Regions from separate parts of the Homo sapiens genome. Here region 2 is linked to region 1. Evidence: promoter capture Hi-C in human tissues and cell types (Jung and others, 2019). All regions are on one chromosome and are shown on one strand. Each heading gives the region's core, a stretch centred on a gene start or on the middle of the fragment in contact. The rest is flanking DNA. Distances are from core to core; before and after follow the strand shown. Region 1 holds the start of ZKSCAN7 (zinc finger with KRAB and SCAN domains 7). Region 2 overlaps ZNF660-ZNF197 (ZNF660-ZNF197 readthrough).

The links. Contacts are between HindIII fragments. The study calls those that stand out against the background at their distance.
Region 2: a contact is called between a fragment that was not itself captured here and the fragment with the promoter of ZKSCAN7 in region 1, in 2 of the 25 tissues and cell types used here (mesendoderm cells and thymus).

What each region holds. Positions count from the first base shown.
Region 1 is chr3:44,553,915-44,556,614 of GRCh38, forward strand. It overlaps ZKSCAN7 (zinc finger with KRAB and SCAN domains 7), which reads left to right and starts at 1,279. Exons shown (of 6, transcript NM_001288590.2): 1 at 1,279-1,567. RefSeq lists silencers at 1,033-1,082, 1,193-1,332. The HindIII fragment of the contact is 4,885 bases long and covers 1-2,700 here.
Region 2 is chr3:44,607,125-44,609,824 of GRCh38, forward strand. The region is part of intron 2 of ZNF660-ZNF197 (ZNF660-ZNF197 readthrough); the gene reads left to right. The region is part of intron 2 of ZKSCAN7-AS1 (ZKSCAN7 ZNF cluster antisense RNA 1); the gene reads right to left. Among named protein-coding and RNA genes, the nearest start is that of ZNF197-AS1, 16 kb to the right of the region's middle. The HindIII fragment of the contact is 7,164 bases long and covers 1-2,700 here.

The DNA of each region.
Region 1 (2,700 bases), core at 29-2,528:
CACGTGGTCAAGGAGACCTGAAAATCAGGTCTGAGAGCATTTAGCCTGGCCTTGGGAGATTTCCTCCTCAAGAATCCTAAGCTTCTGGGGCCTTGATTTGCCTTCCACCTCAAGAATCCTAAGCTTCTGAGGCCTTGATTTGCCAGTAGGCAATGTCTAGCATCAATGTCAGGCAGAGGCTGGGGTTCCTGGTTTTAAATAGCCAAAACCTCCTTGTGAGATTTCCAAATGGAGAGGGGGACCTTGATGACAGGAAACCACCATTAGGATCAATGGACAAAGATTGCTCCAAGAGATTACTTTTAAGCTTGTGGAAACTCTGGAGCAGGACTTCTGGTGTCTTTGTTTCTATCTTGGCTCACACAGATATATGAGGAACATATGTCAGGGCCAGGGTTAGGCCCAGGGCACCTTTGAAATATTGCCATCCCTAGACAGTCCAGGAGACTGTTTACTTTGGGCCCTGTAAAGGACCTATCTCCTGTGCTATAATAAAGATACACAGTTAACTTCATCACACCCTTTGCCCTTCACCCGTGGTCATTAACACACAGGGCCTGCTCAACCATGTTTGTAACAAGGACCAGTTCATATCCTCCTTCTGTATGCAAACCATTCTTCAAAGTGAAAGTCACCTGGGTACCACCTGCCACCCAGAGGCTAGACAACTGCCTACTAGGTTACAAACTGTCCCCACACCTTCTCAGTTTATCTGCTTCTTGGTCTCCCTAGGAACCTCTACATGGACACCAGAATGCTGGTGCTGTCTTACGAAATATTAACCACATTTATGGGCCAAAATATCACAATTTCTAGACATGCTTCTTCATTTTTAAGATGGGAGATGCTTGCTGCTCCCTTCACTGAGACTTCAGATTGGGCATCACACATGGTATAACTGACTGCTCAGGATATGCCAGGCCTTTTGCTATGTAGTGTCTGTTAACCTCATGCGGTGCTCCCAGCCCTGTGAGGTACGCATTATGCTCTGCATTTTTTTCAGATGAGAAAACAGGCTTGGAGGTTGGGTATCTTTCCCAAGGACACCTGGAGGAGAAGGTGTAGAGCTGGGACGCGTCTGGATCCCCCGACTATGGCCTGAGAGCGGGATGTGAGTGGCCTGGGCCCTCGCGAGACCCCGACCCCGCCCGCGGCAGGTGGCCGGGCACAGCCGAGAAGTAAGCCCTGCCAGCTCTCCCGGGTGCGGGGACGCGCGCGCCCACCTTCGCAAACGAGACTTCCGGGATCCCGGAGGGGGCGGAAGTCGAGGCCTCTCTCGCTTCCGGCTCGGCCATTGTTTTTGGTCTAACGGGCAGTAGAGTGTCCGGCTTCGGTGCCGAGTGCCACCGCGAGTGGGCCGAGACGCGGAGGGAGGCGCGGCCGGAGCTCGGGTCGCCGACGCTGGCCAGGACCGCGCTTCTTCCCGGCGGCAGGCGGCGCGGTCCCCGTGACTCTCAGAAGCCGCCCGATGTAGAGCCGCTTCTTTGTCTCATACCCCTGACCATTCGTGCGTGGCACGGAGCCGGGTATCTGCGGGTACAGCGATGAACAGGGCAGACGTGGCCAGGTGAGCGGCGCTGCTGAAGCCTGGTTTAACACGAAAGGTAGATCGCTGTTTTCCCAGCTCTTGCAGTAGGAAACTGTATGAACTGTCATATTTGGGTCAGACCCAGGCTCAGAATCGCAAACGTGGAGCGTGACTTGGAAATGCAAAAATCCAATTGAGATTTTAAAGTGCTGAGCATTCGGAACACTATGGGAAGCAGGAGAATGGCCTGAACTTTCTACATATATGGGATCTTAGAGCAGAGTTTACAGATTATTTTAAAGTCCTTCTTTGTCTTTTTAAAGAGATTGAGACACAGGGATCTGGGCTCTTGGTGAACTGGAAGCACAGCACAGATGCCCTAGTTACCAGTAAGGTGCTGATTTTAAAACGTTCAAAGTTTTCCTCCACTTCAGTGTCAGCTAAATGTATCATATTCATTCATTTCCCAATTATGTGTGCCATGTGCACACGTGTACAAAGATGACTGGAAGTCAGCTCTGCCCTTTGTATCCTCCCAGAAAGCAGGGGAGACAGTCGTGTAAACCACAAACGATTACAGTGTGAGATGTGCTCTACTAGAGGTTTGAATGAAAAAGGTAGTTTGGGATCACTGAGACAATAACCACCTCTCTAAGCCTAGCGTGATCAGGAAGGCTTTCTAGGGGAGGTGCATTGAGTAAAAAAAGGTCTAGTATTTTCTGATTCCATTTGGTTCCTTTCCTTTGGTGGCCGTGCAGCAGTTTGGAGGGTGAGAGTGGTGAGTTGTGCATAAACCAGTTAAAGGGTTATAGTGAGAGGTACACAAAGGGAAGCTACCAGCACTCTTCCTGATGGGGCAATCAGGAAAACCAAGAAAAAGTTGCCTTTGTTCATGGTCTTGACAGACAAGTTTGCCAAAAGTTGAAGAAGAAAAATTCAAAGAAAGAGTATGTGTGGCTTCTAAGTGTGTCTCTAGAGCTTTAGCTCCAAACTTTCTTTATTTTGCATTTCTATCAGTAGAAGAGGTTTGATCACTTACTCCCTACATTGGTTTATTTGTAATTTAAACATGAATACTACTATACAAATTGTAATGCACATTATAAAACATACATTAAATAGGAGTTAAATAACTTAGTATTTTCTCTTGCACCCTTTGGGATAGCCTGCAT
Region 2 (2,700 bases), core at 73-2,572, 53 kb after region 1:
AATAAATGGCATACAGGTTGGAAAGAACAAAGTAAAATTGTCCTTCTTTGTAGACGACACAATTCGCTATGTATAAAATCCAATTAAATCTCTTTTAAAAGCTACTAGAACTAGTAAGTGAGTTGAGGAAGGTTGCAGGACACATAACTTTATAAAAATCAATTTGATTTTTATATACTAACAATGAACAATTTGAAATCAAAATTTAAATAATATCATTTATAATAGCATTAAAATATGAAATACAGTAATTAATATGGCAAAAATGCAAAATATCTGTATATTAAGTACTGTAAAACTTTGGTGAGAGAAATTAAAGAAGACCTAACCAAATGGAAATCTACTTTGTTCACGGATCAGAGTATGCAGTATGGTTAATATGTCAATTGTCCACAAACTGTAGACTCAAATCCATCTCAATCAAAATCCTAGTAGTTGTGTGTGTGTTTTGTAAAAATTAAAAAGTTGTCTCTAAATTCTATATGAAAATGCAAAGAGCTTAGAGTAGCCAAAACAAATCAGAAAAATATTTTAAAATTTGGAGGGCTAACCTGATCTTAAAACGTATGTAGAACTACAGCAGTCAAGACAGTGTAGTTTTGGCATAGTGATAGAAAAATAGATAAATAGAAGAGAATAAAAAATTCAGAAATAGATCCACACATATATGAGCAACTGATTTTCGACAAATGTTCAAAGGCAATCAGTGGATAAATGGTATCTTTCCAACAAATCATATTGGAATAATTGGATATCCCTATGTAAAAATATTAACTTTGATCAATATCTCCCAATATATTAAAAATTAATAATGAATACTATACCTCAGTAGGAAACCTAAAACAATGAAAATTCTAGAATAAATCTGGAGAAATTGTGTCATCTTGCATTAGACAAACATTTCTTACATATAATGCCAAAGGTATGATTCACAAAAGAACAATTTGATAAACGGATGTCATCAAAACTAAAAGATCTGTTTTTTGAAAAGTACTGTTAGGAAAATTACAAAACAAGCCACGATCTGGGAAAAATATGAATACAGCATATATCTGATAAAGGATTTGTATCCAAAAGTGTCAAAATCCAACAATAAGGAAGCAAATAACCTAGTAGAATAATGTGCAAAGATCTGAATGGACACATCACTGACAAAGACATTCAGATGGCAAATAGGCACTGGAAAAGATGTTCAACATCACTGGTTTTTAGGGTAATGCAAATTACAACCACAGGGAGATACCACTACACCCCAATTAGAATGATGAAAATTAATAAGATAGTTCACATCACATGTTGGCAAATATGTGGAGGAACTGGAACTTTCAAACACTGTAGGCAGAAATGTAAAGTAGTGTAACAACTGTGGAAAACACGTTGGCTGTTGTTTAAAAAGTTAAATGTGGATTTGACAATGAATTATTGGCTATGACACCAAAAGCACAGGCAATAAAAGTAAATCCAGGTGCGGTGGCTCACACCTGTAATCCCAGCACTTTGGGAGGCCTAGGAGGTTGGATCACTTGAGGTCAGGAGTTTGAGACCACCTGGCCAATGTGGCAAAACCTCATCTCTACTAAAAACACAAAAATTAGCTGGGCATGGTGGCGTGTGCCTGTACTCACAGCTACTCAGGAGGCTGAGGAAGGACAATCCCTTGAACCTGGGAGGCAGAGGTTGCAGTGAGCTGAGATTGTGCCATTGCCCTCCAACCTGGGCAACAGAGCAAGCCTCCGTCTTGAAAAAAAAAAAAAAGTAAAAATAGATAAACTATACTACATCAAAATTTAAAACTTCTGTGCACTAAAGGACATAATCAGACTGAAAAGACAACCTATGGAATGGGAGAAAAAATTTGCAATTAAACATTTGATGAGTAGTTGATATCCAGAATATATAAATAACTCCTACAATTCAATAACAAAAAACTTAAAAAATGAGGAAAAGACTTAAATAGACATTTCTCCAATGATACGCAAATGGCCAACAAGCATATAAAAAAATGCTCAATATCATTAATCATTAGAGAAGTAAAAATCGAAACCACAATGAGAGGTCATCTCACACCATTATGATAGCAATTATCAAAACCAAAACAACAACAACAACAGAAAAGAAAATAATAAGCATTGATGAGAATGTGCAGAATTGGTACCTTTGTGCACTGTTGGTGCGGATGTAAAATGGCACAGCTGCTACATAAAACAGAATAGCAATTTCTCAAAAAATTAAAAACAGGTTGGGTATGGAGGCTCATGCCTGTAATCTCAGCACTTTGGGAGGCCGAGGCAGTTGGATTGCTTGAGCCCAGGAGTTCAAGACCAGCCTGGGCAACATGGCAAGACCCTGTCTCTATAAAAAATTAAAAAATTAACTGGGCATGGTAGTGCATACCTGTAGTCCCAGCTAGTCAGGAGGCTGAGGCAGATGTATTGATTGAGCCTGGGAGGTCGAGGCTGCAGTGAGCCGGGATCACACCACTACACTTCAGCCTGGGTGACAGGGTGGGACCCTGTCTCAATAAAAAATTAATTAATTAATTAATTAAAAATTAAAATAGAATTACCATACAATCCAGCAACCCCACTTCTAGGTATGTATTCATAAGAATTGAAAACAGGATCTCTAAGAGATATTTGCACATTCATTTTTATAGTAGCATTATTAACAATAGCAAGAGGTGGAAGAAATCCAAATGTC